3 separate regions of the Homo sapiens genome follow, and all the other regions are linked to region 3. The links are contacts of gene promoters, found by promoter capture Hi-C in blood cells and fetal thymus (Javierre and others, 2016). All regions are on one chromosome and are shown on one strand. Each heading gives the region's core, a stretch centred on a gene start or on the middle of the fragment in contact. The rest is flanking DNA. Distances are from core to core; before and after follow the strand shown. Region 1 overlaps TBC1D5 (TBC1 domain family member 5). Region 2 overlaps TBC1D5 (TBC1 domain family member 5). Region 3 holds the start of SGO1 (shugoshin 1).

Region 1 (4,303 bases), core at 758-3,257, 2.4 Mb after region 3:
GATAAAAAGAGGCTCAGAGATTATCATCAGAGGTTAAGATTGTCCCAAATTCTCTCTTGTTCTTTTGGAATATTAGGATAGAGTTGAAACCCTTGCTGCATGCCCACTTGTTGGCTTTTTTATTTCTTACCCTGATGCTGTGTTGTGGGCTGCATGGACATACCAGCTCTGCCATGCTTTCTGGGCCTCACAGCTGAATGGCCAAGTCATTACTTACGGTTATCCCAGGGAAGCATTTGTTGCACATCCGAATGATGGAAGCCTTCTAATTGGTATTTTCAGCTATTAATAATAATTTTAATATTTTTACAAATTCTGTATGATTATGATATGTGTTATAATGCCATGCTGGTCAGCTACTTAGTCTCACAGTGCCTCACTTTTCTCATCTTTAAAATGGGGAAAATAATAGTAACTTTGAGAATTAGAGAGAGAGAGAGAGTGTGTGTGTGTGTGTGTGTATGTGTGAGTGTGTGTTTAAAGCCCTTAATGCTATCACGTAAGTGATAGATATTCTGTGGATAATCTACAGTGTGGTAGATCATATCTATATAATCAAGACTGACTATATTTTTGGAGATTGTACAGTTTATTTGGGATAAGGCTCTATGGGCCAAGAAAGCAGAGTTTGTACTTTTTGGATGAAAATACAAAATTGGTATAGTAATGCTCTTATCCCTTTGGAGAATTAAATGCAAATAAATATAGTTTGACAGCTCAGATCTTTCAAAACAAGAAAGTAGGGCTGTAGAAAAAAACATGTCTTTGGTGATGGTGTGAAAGGATTGGTTAAAATCTTTCAAGGGTAGTGTTGCGAAGCCTAGTACAGGATCACCTTTTTTTCTGAATGTCCATTAGTTTGGATGAAAAACATCTAAAGATAATGTCATTCAGTCATTGTCCAGTGTTGCATGTGGTTTCTGTGGCTAACTCCAGGAAAATATTCAGTAATTGCAGATTTACTCTTTTTCTTAATTCAGTTGCCTAGAAAAGATGTTAACTGGGTTTTTTTTTTTTTGAAACAAAATAGTCTTAAAAGTTTTGAAATAGGCATTACAGATGATTACATGTTATCATAGTTTTTTTGTTAAGACAAGAGTGTTTACCTTTACTTTTTTGCTAGTGATGAAGGCTACATGAAGAAGAGTGATTGACTTTTTAAAATGGAATGATGTAATTTTATGATACTTTATGGAAGAGTAGTGTGTATGTATGTCTAAAGAAAATTCTGCTATGAGTGCATGTATTAGATCCAGTAATCACAGTATGTTAGGTTAGCCTGCCATTAGAAAAAAGAGCCACCTCCCCCCATTATAGAAAGTAATGCCTATTGTTGAAATTTTATAAAAACAAATGATGAAAAATAATTATCTGCACTGTTGAGAATTTCTTAAGGTTCTCTTCAGGGCTGTCTTGCCTTGAGAGATACTGCAAAATGAATGTCAGTTTTGTACCACAAGTATTAGTTTAGAAAGCTGAGTAACACATGTTGGTTAAGCAGGAGTGTTTTATCTTCTAGGGTTACTAAACTTTTTGTCCCTAAGTAAGATAAAAAGGTTGAACCAAAAGTACTTAGATTCCCACTTCTAATTGTGAGTCTTCAGAATAACTAGACCAGTGAGAAGTAAGCCCCCACTTCTGACATAAGCACCATGGGGAAGATACATCAGAGAAAAACGGCTCCCACCTGATGGAGTTGGAATAAGCACATATCTTAGGAACCGGCTGCAGAGGTATGCATTCTGTTTGCTGATAAGTGGGGATCAGAATGAACCCCTTTAGAGTTTCCCACAACAGGTGGGAAGTGTTTTTTTTGTCTTTTTTTTAAATTGAGACAGAGTCTCACTCTGTCACCCAGGCTGGAGTGCAGTGGCGCGATCTCTACTCACTGCAACCTCTGCCTCCTGGGTTCAAGTGATTCTCCTGCCTCAGCCTCCTGAGTGGCTGGGACTATAGGTACATGCCACCAAGCCCAGCTAATTTTTTTGTATTTTTAGTAGAGACGGGGTTTCACCATGTTGTTCAGGCTGGTCTCAAACTCCTGACTCAGGTGATCCACCCGCCCCAGCTTCCTGGAGTGCTGGAATTACAGGCATGAGCCATTGCACCAGGCCTCCAGGAAGTGTTTTGACTTTATATTGAGACTTTGGAGGTGTCCCAGCAGCTACCTGGCAGAAGTTCTAGAGGAGTTCCTAACGTTACATCTCTTGCCATCCTGGGATGGGATAGTGGATTGATTGCCTTGGATCCCTGGTGGAGCTTTGGGGAACAAGGTTGGAGACGTGGAGTTGATAGGAGATGGAAAGGTAGTGCCACTATTTCCATGTTTGTCTACTGCATATTCATTAAACTAGACCCCTTTTACTTCCATGAGGAACAAGAGTCTAAAGGTAAGAGTGCTCATTTTTATAAATAGATGGGGTGACTTAGGAAGACTTGGGTCAAATTGCCTCCTCACCCACCTTCATTTCTCTAAGATTGGGGTTAATTTAAGTCTCTTTATCCTGTGGCATGTGTGTGTGCAAGTTTGTGTGTACCTATAGATCTACCTTTTTAATTTTAATTTTATTAAATTTTATTTTTTAGAGACAAGGTCTCACTCTGTTACTCAGGCTGGAGTGCAGTGGTATGATTATGAGAGGCAGGACTAGCTGGATTTCCTAGGCCGACTAAGAATTCTTAAGCCTAGCTGGGGAAGGTGACTGCATCTGCCTTTAAACACAGGGCTTGTAACTCAGCTCATACCCAACCAATCAGGTAGTAAAGAGGGCTCACTAAAATACAAATTATTCTAAAGCAGGAGGTAAAGAAATAGTCAAATCGTATATTGCCTGAGAGCACAGTGGGAGGGACAATGATTGGGATATAAACCCAGGCATTAGAGCAGGGAGCGGCAACCCCCTTTGGGTCCCCTCCCTTGTATGGGAGCCCTGTTTTCACTCTATTAAATCTTGCCACTGCACACTCTTCTGGTCCGTGTTTGTTACTTCTCGAGCTGAGCTTTCGCTCGCCATCCACCACTGCTGTTTGCTGTCGTCGCACACCTGCTGCTGACTTCCACCCCTCCAGATCCAGCAGGGTGTCCGCTGTGCTCCTGATCCAGCGAGGTGCCCATTGCTGCTCCTGATCGGGCTAAAGACTCGCCATTGTTCTTGCATGGCTAAATGCCTGGGTTCGTCCTAATTGAGCTGAACACTAGTCTCTGGGTTCCATGGTTCTCTTCTGTGACCCATGGCTTCTAATAGAGCTATAACACTCACCGTAAGGCCCAAGGTTCCATTCCTTGGAATCTGTGAGGCCAAGAACCCCAGGTCAGAGAACAAAAGGCTTGCTGCCATCTTGGGAGTGGCCGCCACCATCTTGGGGGAGTTCTAAGAACAAAGACCCACTCATAACAATTATACCTCATTCCAGCCTCATATACCTTTTTAAAAAAACTGAAATGGATTCAGCTATTTTGTTGTTTGCAGTTGTTTTTCACCTAATACGATATTACTCATGTCATTAGTTTTCTACGTAACTTTTAGTGGCCCCATACTATTTCATTGTATGAATGTACCATAAGTAGTCCTCCATTCTTAGACACCTAGATTTCTTTCATTCTTCATGATAAATAGTGCTACGTTGAACACTATTATAGCTAATATCCCTCTGTGCCTATGCATTATTTATTTAGGAGAAATTGTTATGGGTGGAATTGCTGGGTCAAAAGATTTTCTCATCTTTATTTTTCATTTTTATTATTTTTTTTAAGACAAGGTCTTGCTCTGTTGCCCAGGCTGGAATGCAGTGGCACGATCACAGCTCACTGCGTCCTTGAGCTCCTAGGCTCAAGTGATCCTTCCACCTCGGCCTTCTGAGTAGCTGAGACCACAGGCACATGCCACCATGCCCAGCTAATTAAATTTTTTTTTTTTTGTCGTAGAGACCATGTCTCTCTATGTTGCCCAGGCTGGTCTCAAACGTCGGGGCTCAAGCTATCCTCCCACATCGGCCTCCCAAAGTGTTTGGATTATATTTGTGAGCCACCACGCCTGGGTTGCCCATCTTTAACAGTTGTGTTATACATGGCCAAATTGCCTACCAAAAAGATTATGCCAGTTTACCCTTTACAACAAAGCCATTTGAGAGGCCTTTTACATGCCATTATTGGGATTATCATTTTTGTTAAACAGCTTTATTCAGGTTTGACTTTATACTTCCCTTCTCTTGCCTTCTTACAGGTTTTAACATTTTATGTAGCTAAGTCTTGTTCTTCCTTTAGGTATCTTACGTAGATAGGCTTTTCCTACCTTATGTTTAT
Region 2 (4,430 bases), core at 325-2,824, 3.0 Mb after region 3:
AGTTTCCGGATTAGCTGGCCATGCTGTAAGTCATAGTGGTCAGAACACTGAGGATATGTCATTTAACTCAAAAGTTGATTTTTTTTACTACTGTATATATTATATAAAAGCTCAAGGGGAAACAAGTCAATTAATCATAAATGATCATGCATAGAAAATATGATGCTTTTTTAAAATGCTTTTTTCTTTAGCCTGTTAGTCTGAAAATAGCATAGGCCTTCAGATGGTGATATATCCAGAGAATGATTCTGTTGACAGTGACTGTGCTTAGTGTTGAACTTTGTCATCCAGGAAGGAAATCAAAGAACCAAAAAGTCTTCCTTCCAAATGTTAGTGCACCTCAGGTTCTTCATGAGATTTCCTGTTATGCTCCTTTTCCTTTCTTATGTTCTTAAAATGCACTTGGTTTTTTTTTTTTCCTGTTTCCTTTGTCTATATTTTAAATTGCTTTTTTAATTTGAACATGTCATTATTTTAAGCACTTACTATAAGTCCAATTTGTAAATGAAATCTTGCCTACAATAAGTATATCAAGTGAAGGGTATGCAGTTCACAGGTTTATTTTTACATGTTGACATTTATAAGTACATGTGGTAACTTAAATCTTTTCATTACTTAATGTGAAATTAGAACTTATTGAGGACTTTATCTTATCACTGAAGAAGTTGGTTTCAAGTTAGTTAAAAATAAATTTTGTCTGATATAGGAGGAAATCAATTTCAAAAGAATGCCTATTTTTAAATAAATGACATATAACTTACTTTTGGATGAAAGGGAAAATATAAAATCACACTAATATTTGTAGCATCATGAAATATGCTCAGCAAAATCTTTTGATTGCTGAAGTTTCCTATACTCTAGTTGAAACTTGTTTGTGTTTTCTTTAAGAAAAACAAACACAAAACATTTCTAGAAAACATGCTCTTAAAGATTATTTTCTTTGAAAATATTTTATATTTTTCTAAGCTTGTGCATTATTTTCTTTTGTACTATATTTTTAGTAATTTGATTAAAGTATTAGAACATTCAGTATAAAAGAAAAGTGAAGTTGATTATTTCCTTTTTATGAAATCTAATTATTTTTTCTTATGAAATCCAGGCGATGTAGTTACAGGAAGCGATGCTCAGGTTTCTGTTCCTGTCCAGACTCTAACTGACCTCCAAGGTACAGTTACCATAACAACATAGTGTTTCTTTTTCTTTGCCTACAGTATTATCATTGCCTACTCCAAAACTCCATTTTTCTTTTTGCCCACCCTCCATTCATACTGTTTTCAATTCACTACCATTGTTCAGCCACTGAGTGGCACTATTGTTAAGAACAAAAGTCCCCTCTCATGTCATACCTTGGTGATGCCGAATATGGCTGTGATGTGGGTTTTCTATTAGGTGTGCACAAGCCTCTTTGCAAAATATGATTCACCCTGTATTTTGTGGTTATTATAACATAGTATACTTTGTGTGCCAGCTCACACTGAGGTGTTCTTTTTGTTACACTGGTGCTCTGTGACAGTATTTGACCAATTAGTTCTGAAAATAGACATCTTATGTGCTACGATTAGCCAGAAATACTTACATTTTGCCTGAAATAATTACAACCTGATTTTGAAATGTTTTTAAGTATTGCCTTTGAATTACGCATTATGTTAACACAATTAAAGTACAGTGTAGCAAATCTTCATTTATGGTAACTGGCAATGGTTTTAAAAAAAGAATGTTTAAATATCATATCCATTTGTTCAAAATATAGAAAATATAGTTTTTAAATAAATACAAAAAGTGATCATCTACCTCCTATGCAATTTTAAAACATATAAATACTTAAAGTGGCTGCATTAATCTTTTATTATGCAGTCTTTTAGATGAAATATGCGATAGAGAGGATTTCTGTGTTAAATGGAAGCCTAGAGTAACTTTAAGAATCTTCTATTCAAATTCAGACTAAAATGATAGCAGTATTAATTAAAATCCATACCATGTTTTTCTTAATTTAAAATACCACATAATATAGTGATGCTAGTAGTATTAAAATACTGTTTTAATAATGATATGTCCTCATATTATCCATTTTTTTAGGGGGGGTGGAACAGAAAAGAATGGGTTGTGATTAAGAGATTGATGTATTGGGTTAACTTAAAAAACAAAAACCCACCACATTGTGGCAATAGAGGAGTAAGCTTTCACTTCTATATATAGTTCTGTGTCTCACAGGTATAGTTTCTGGAGGTATTCTGGTAATTGAACCAGATGAACTTCAAGGGCTTTTCTAGCTCAGGGATTCCATGAAGAGCTGTTCACTCTTGCTGTCTGTTAAATGATCTACATAATAGAAGGGTATAATAGCATGGACAAGAGGAAAGGCAGATAATGTCTACATGATTTCTCTTTAGCTTTGCACTGAGATGAATGTTAATGTGATCATCTGATATGGAGAGAATTTACAAGACTTAAATTTGTTTTCTAAAATTAAATTCTGAGCCCCACAGACAACTTTTTAACATGTGTGTTGTTGTCCCAACATTAATTGCTACAGAGTAGATCTTTGGCTTCTCTGCAAGACATAGGATATGGAGCCCAATTTATACCTATGGAAAGAAAAGCTAAGAGTTGGCTTGCTTATTCTGACTTCTGCTTCTATGCTATTAATAAATCCAGTTTTTTTCCTACAAACCAGAGCCACAGGAGTAACGTAACTGTTTAACTAGAACTTCAAAGAGGGAGGTTATATTGTTTTGTTCAAATACCTCGTGTTATATAAGTAGAATTATCTCATTTGTTTATTCAACAAGTATTTATTGAGTGCCTGCTGCTGTGTCAAGCTCTGTTTTCACTGGTCCCTTGGCTTTCCTTACAGCTTTACCTGGTTGGTTGGGCATTACCTTTGCTTTAGGTGACCCAGTTAAGCCTACATAGTCGGGAACCAGCTCTTTTACTAGATACCCTATTCAGAATCACCTCTGCCTCCCATACCCTAGCAGAGATTGTATCAGTCTGATAAGGAAAGTTCCAGCTACTTTAATAGATGTGAATCACAAATAAACAGCTTTTAGTCTGTGGTGATGATTTTGACAATGATAGACAATGAGAGTACACCTACCTGATTTGGGGAAGTCACTTTTTGTCTTCCTCAACATATTCCCTGAAGAGTACCAAGAAGCAAGGGGAAGTAGAAGTAAACCAAAATAGTGGTAGCAGAAAAAAAAATTCTATCTATGCTTAATATAATCAGTGTCAAGGAATTAAACTACTTAGATTTTCCCAAGTGTCTTTTTTCAAAGCAATGAAGTAAATTTCAAGAAATAAAGTAAGTATCAATACTTTTGATGATTCCTTGATTATAGATAGTCTTTTTTTAATGAAATTTTATGTCTGTATCTTTGACTTTTAACACAGCAGTTATATGGGCTTTTATTTTTAAGAAAAAACCTGAATATAAGGTGAGATTCCATAATTTAGATCAATAAGTAATTTTTAGAGAATTATTCAAAAATTTCATTTTATATCTTGCAGTGTAGGTTGCAATCACACACCAAAAAAAAGCCACAGCAGACTTTGTTTATCAAAGACTTAACTCAGTGAGGTTCTTCAAAATTAGTTTTAGAAATTGCATACTTACCCCCGGAAACCTTTGTCAAGAGATATTTATGAATTTATTCACAAATCAAAAAGCTTTAAACACAGGTACACACACAAGACATATGTTATTTTTAAAGAGAATCTGGAATTTGTAACAACAGAAGTACAGTCAGCCCCCTGTATCCATGGGTTTCACATCTCTGGATTCAGCCAACTACAGGTCAAAAATATTCAGAAAAAAAATGAGTCTCTACTGAACATGTACAGACATTTTTCTTATAACTCCCTAGACAATATGGTATAACCACCATTTACGTAGCATTTACATTGTATTAGGTATTATAAATAATTCAGAGATGACTTAAAGTATAAAGGAGGATATGCGTAGGTTATTTAAAAATAGTACTACCATTTTATATAAGAGACTATAGCATCCTTGGATTTTGGTATCCACAGCGGTCCTGAAACCAATCTCCCATGGATACTGAGAGATGACTAGATTTAGGTATTAACATAAAATGGACCATTAGGAAAGAATTTTAGATTTTTTAAAATAATTTCCATAGGCATCTTTAAAATTTATACTTGTATATATACATTTGTGTTATGGATGTAAATATGCATATACATACGCACAGATATCTATAACATCAGATTATTTTAAATATAAAAAGGTTAAAAAAAAACTTCCTGTCCAGGTAACCACTGTTGATATTCTTAAGGTAAAACTAAAATATGTGACATTAGATGATTCCAATTAATTAAAGGTACTACATGAAAAATGGGAGTAGGGGAGAATCTCCATTTTCTCCTCCCACCTTTCTGCCAGCCCATTTCCCCAAGGGTAACCATTG
Region 3 (4,481 bases), core at 1,297-3,796:
TAGGACTCTGGTGGTATTTTCCCTCACTGCCCCTAAATTCAGCCATTTCTATTCTTTAGGGCTCTATAATAAACACCTGATTTGAAGTCTGACCCATTTTTAAATTGGGAACGGGGAAGACACCCCTCAAAAAGTCAGAACCTCAAAGCCTTTGGTCAGGGCCAGCTATATAATCTGTGTGGGTCAATGTGAAATGAAAATATGATGCTCCTTGTTCAAAATCCAAGACAAAAACCTTCAGCTTACCGATAAGTAGAGAAAGACTGAAAAGAAAAGGAATTGTGGAATGTCTTATCTTTCCTTTTCCTTTCATGCCATCACTTTTAGTGTAAGTGGTTAGAAAATATAGTAACGTGGTTGGGCATGATGGCTTAGCCTGTAATCCCAGTTTGGAAGGCTGAGGCAGACAGATCACTTGAGCTCAGGAGTTTGAGACCAGCCTAGGCAACATGGCAAAACTCTGTCTCTACAAAAAAATACAAAAATTAGGGGGCGTAGTGGTGGGTCCCTGTAATCCCAGCTACCTGGGAGGCTGAGGCAGGAGAACTGCTTGAACCTGGGAGGCAGAGGTTGCAGTGAGCTAAGATGATGTCACTGCACTCCAACCTGGGAGACACAGCAAAACTCCGTCTCAAAGAAAATAATAATAATTTCAAGAGGGCAAGGGTGAGCCCTTCTGAGCACTTTGTACTTAGGTCCCTAACTACAAAATAAGTGGTTCATGGAGGCCATTTAGTGCGCATCCTGAACATTGTATGACATGGGGCAAGAAACAGTGACAGACACACACATTGCATGAATCACATCTGCTCACAAGATTGCTCCATTGTCTCATCAGACATCACTTACAAAACATAAGTTCAAATATAAACTCCTAAGCATTTCAAGACGGCAACAGCAGAGCATTAAACCAAATGTACAGCCCTTCTAAGCACCGGTTGCCTGCTCATGAAGCTGGCCCTATTCTCTGCTCTCATGTTCCACTTCATAATTTTCTGACCTCAAACAACAAAAAACCTCTCTGCCCATTCCTTCTTGATGCTTCTACACATATAAGCCACATTGCCCAGTGGCAGTAAACTGAGGGTTAATGGAGTTGGTCTGGTTAACTTGGAAAACGAGGGAGTTGTTGGCTGGAGAAGGGTGTTTCAGCCTCTTCCACTCAAGCCAGGATGGGTACCCAGACTAGAGCAAGCATGTGTTAGCTACCTTTAAAAAACAACAACACACCTTCATAAAGAATGCCTAGATTCAAAACATTTGTTTCGTTTTCATTTATTTGTTCCTTTATTGTCCCAGTGAATATTTACTACTTACTTCAAATTGCAACGAGATGCTGACAATTTAGCTATGAACAAAGCAGATGTAGTTCCTGCCCTTATTCAACTTCAAGAAACAGGCAATGAACGACAAGTCAGTGTCACAAGGAATACCAAGGGGAAAATGCAGGGCACTAAGAAAGTGTAAAGCAGACACTCAGGGGCTTTAGGGGTAGATAAGTCTTTCTGGAAGAATTCATCTGTACAGTGAAACTTCAGTATACATAGGAGTAAGTTCGGCCAAGGGAAAGAGTGTTCTTGACAGAACAGCATTGGCAAAAGTGGCAAGAATTTTAAGAAAATTAAAGAAAATGTACAAGTGATGGAACCAGGAATCATGGGGCTCTTTAAGGACAAAATATCTTAAAGGAGTTTGAAATTCACCTTAAATGCAATAGGGAGCCATTGTAAAGTTTCCTATTTGATACTTGTTTTGTAAAAATATTAATCTATGAAGAATATAGGGAGTGGAGTCTGCGGTCAGAGTGGGTACTAGTGCAATTTAGGGAATGAGATTAGGCTGGAAGCTGGATTGGGGGGAAAAAGATGGGCATGAGAGAAACTTGGAAAGCAGAGTTGAGAAGATCGTGTGACCGACTGGACGGGCAAAGGTTAAGAGAGGATAAATAATCATTAAGGACGATTTCTCAGGCTTCTAGTCGGTAACTGGATGGATGTTGGTGCCATTTCTCGAGAAGAGTTAAAGAGCCAGAGATAGCCGGCAAAGAGAAACATGGAGCTAGAATTTTCAGGTATCTGCAGTTTCCCTAATACCTTTTTAATCCAGAATTTGCTCCTTGTTTTGGTTTTAATTCCTCTAAAAGCTGCTTCCGTGTTGCAAGCTGGCTGACCGCTTTAACAGGCAACCAAAGAGATTCTTCTCACAAGAGGGAGGCTTTGAGCACAACCCGGGACATTTGAAGCTGTCAGACTGAAGAAACAGGAAGCTTTGAACTACCTATCACACTCGGCCTTAAAGGTTTCGGAGTAACTCCACCCGTAAAATCCCCACGACTCTGATTAGAAAGTCCCGGCGGGTCGCCGAGACCCGACCGCAGGCTCCGCCCCAGGGCCAGGTGGATGCCCGGATGTGGACTTGAGCGAATGTGCGTCACGTGACGTCGCCTGGCGGGGCGGGACTCTGCCTGCGACGGTGGTGTTGGGTGCATCCTGCGCCACGTGACCGCCTCCCAGCCAACCAATGGAGGAGCGAGGCGGAAAATTTCGAATGTGGCGGCGGTAGTTCCAGGCGACGGCGGACGGTGGTACGGTCCTGGAGGGCCCAGTGCGCGGGGCTAGCCGTGGCTGGAGAGCTTCGAAGAGCCTTGAAATGTGAGGAGGAGGAAGATAGCTGTTGCAGAAGTAGTGGCCAAGGTATCGTTCTGGACGCGCCTGCGGCAGGAGGGTCGCCGCGTCCACTTCCGCCAGCCCCACCTCCCCCCGGCCTTCCTGGAGTCCCTGAAAGAGGAAGAAGTAGGTTTTAAGGTGCGAAACAAGGGCGTAGTGATCCCTGTTTGACTTCCCTTCGGTTTTCAGTATCATTCTAAATTCGGTGGCCGAAAGCTCGGGCCGTGGAGTCCCACTCGCCGCGCTTTTCGCCGTTCAGCCACTCGATCTGCGCTTTCAGATGTTCCGGCTTCCATGGAGACCCTAATTTCCTACTTTGCAAAATTGTGTAGATTAAGTGATGTGCAAATAAAGCTTTTACAATAGCTAAAAGCCTGGCTCAACGTAAGGACACAAGAAAATTGACAGCAGTTCTTTGTGCAGCGTGATACCGTTGACGTCCTCCTTGTCCAGGCCATTCTCTTCCTCACTTACCCTGGAGAGGCCGGCACTGACTAGTATCCTACCTGGCTGTCTTCGCAGCAGGACTAATTGGAGAATTATGGACGGAGATCAAATATGCTAGGTTCTTTAAATCCAGAGCGCTTACACGAGTACTGTACAGATTGAGACCGTCATCTCGCGCTGTGGTCTGTCTTTGCTTTCATCCCTTCTGTCTACCACACCCCCTGCTAATAACCATCGCCTTATTTAGACAGGATATAAAACTTTTGATATGGCAAGTTTCTTTTGTGATTTTTAACTTGATTAAAAGTAATAACGAAAGCTTTTTAGGTAAGGCTTTGCCTTTAAAATACCTTAACTAAACTAGATCCGTTACTTAATCTGTATGACTCTCAAACATCTCCAATTCTAACTTAATTGTGTAAAACAACCCCTTTACCGTTCGTGCTTTTAAAAATAGCTACCCTATCTCTGCTAGGAACCTCCCAGTACATATTGTATATACCTTGGTAGAAAGAAAGTTCTTAAGTGGTATCTACAATACCTATATTTAAGATTCCAGACACTGCATAGAGGAAAATAAGGCCTGGAGGAAATACTCAAGATTAAGTGTAAGGTTTAGGAAAATATTTGACTATCGTAGAGGAGATGAAGATATCCTTTGTAGTGAAAATTCTGTGCATAGATTGTTATTGGAAACAAGTCTTTTTTTTTTGCAATTTTAAGATCTGCAAAGTGCAATCTAGCGTAAAAGATGTTTGTGAAAAGTGGTTTGACATGTTTAGTAGCATGCTAAAGCCTACCTGATTTGCAACGTTGAAAGATTAAGTATAGTTATGTATTTAATACTCAACGTTTAACTGTATGTACAACAATATTTAATGTCTGATTTGTTATGTTCATAATTTACTGGGAGTTAACAGCCCTAACTTTTAGCCACAGTTTGAGAATACTAGAGTGTTCCTCTGCCCAAGTTCCTGCTCTAGCTCTGTACTTGTTACAATAGCCTATTAAAATTGTATGTAGTGCTACATAGTTTAAACCTCTAAGGAGTACCTTGACTTTCTTGAGACTGTGTGCATATCATAAGTGATAATTGCGTTTAAAGAGTATGGAAAAATAGTTGAATGACCTAATCTGATGAATTAATCATTAGAGAAGAGCTGGAAAACAAAACCCAAATATATAATTGCCTCAGAACTAATGCTGTAAGCTTAAGCAGTAAAAGTTGGTCCTAAACATTTTCTATAAAAAGTGTAAATAATGCATCAAAATATAATAATAAGCATTTTCAATAGTGTCTGGCATATACCCCACAGTGAGTATTTGTTAAAGAATGAATAAGTGGCATATTGTGGAATCTTTGGGTTG

The links. The method cuts DNA at HindIII sites, captures the fragments that hold promoters and counts their contacts. A CHiCAGO score of 5 or more calls a contact.
Region 1: a contact is called between a fragment that was not itself captured here and the fragment with the promoter of SGO1 in region 3, in 1 of 17 cell types (non-activated CD4 T cells). The highest score is 7.4, in non-activated CD4 T cells.
Region 2: a contact is called between a fragment that was not itself captured here and the fragment with the promoter of SGO1 in region 3, in 1 of 17 cell types (fetal thymus). The highest score is 5.1, in fetal thymus.

The regions. Positions count from the first base shown.
Region 1 is chr3:17,734,541-17,738,843 of GRCh38, reverse strand. All of the region lies in intron 1 of TBC1D5 (TBC1 domain family member 5), which reads left to right. Among named protein-coding and RNA genes, the nearest start is that of TBC1D5, 5.9 kb to the left of the region's middle. The HindIII fragment of the contact is 4,840 bases long and covers 1-4,303 here.
Region 2 is chr3:17,230,420-17,234,849 of GRCh38, reverse strand. It overlaps TBC1D5 (TBC1 domain family member 5), which reads left to right. Exons shown (of 23, transcript NM_001349074.2): 18 at 1,100-1,165. Among named protein-coding and RNA genes, the nearest start is that of PLCL2-AS1, 180 kb to the right of the region's middle. RefSeq lists enhancers at 1,106-1,175, 2,175-2,244, 2,619-2,913. The HindIII fragment of the contact is 1,211 bases long and covers 969-2,179 here.
Region 3 is chr3:20,184,271-20,188,751 of GRCh38, reverse strand. It overlaps SGO1 (shugoshin 1), which reads left to right and starts at 2,546. Exons shown (of 8, transcript NM_001199251.3): 1 at 2,546-2,804. SGO1-AS1 (SGO1 antisense RNA 1) reads right to left here. Exons shown (of 4, transcript NR_132785.1): 4 at 2,637-2,777. RefSeq lists enhancers at 2,069-2,128, 2,149-2,828. The HindIII fragment of the contact is 754 bases long and covers 2,269-3,022 here.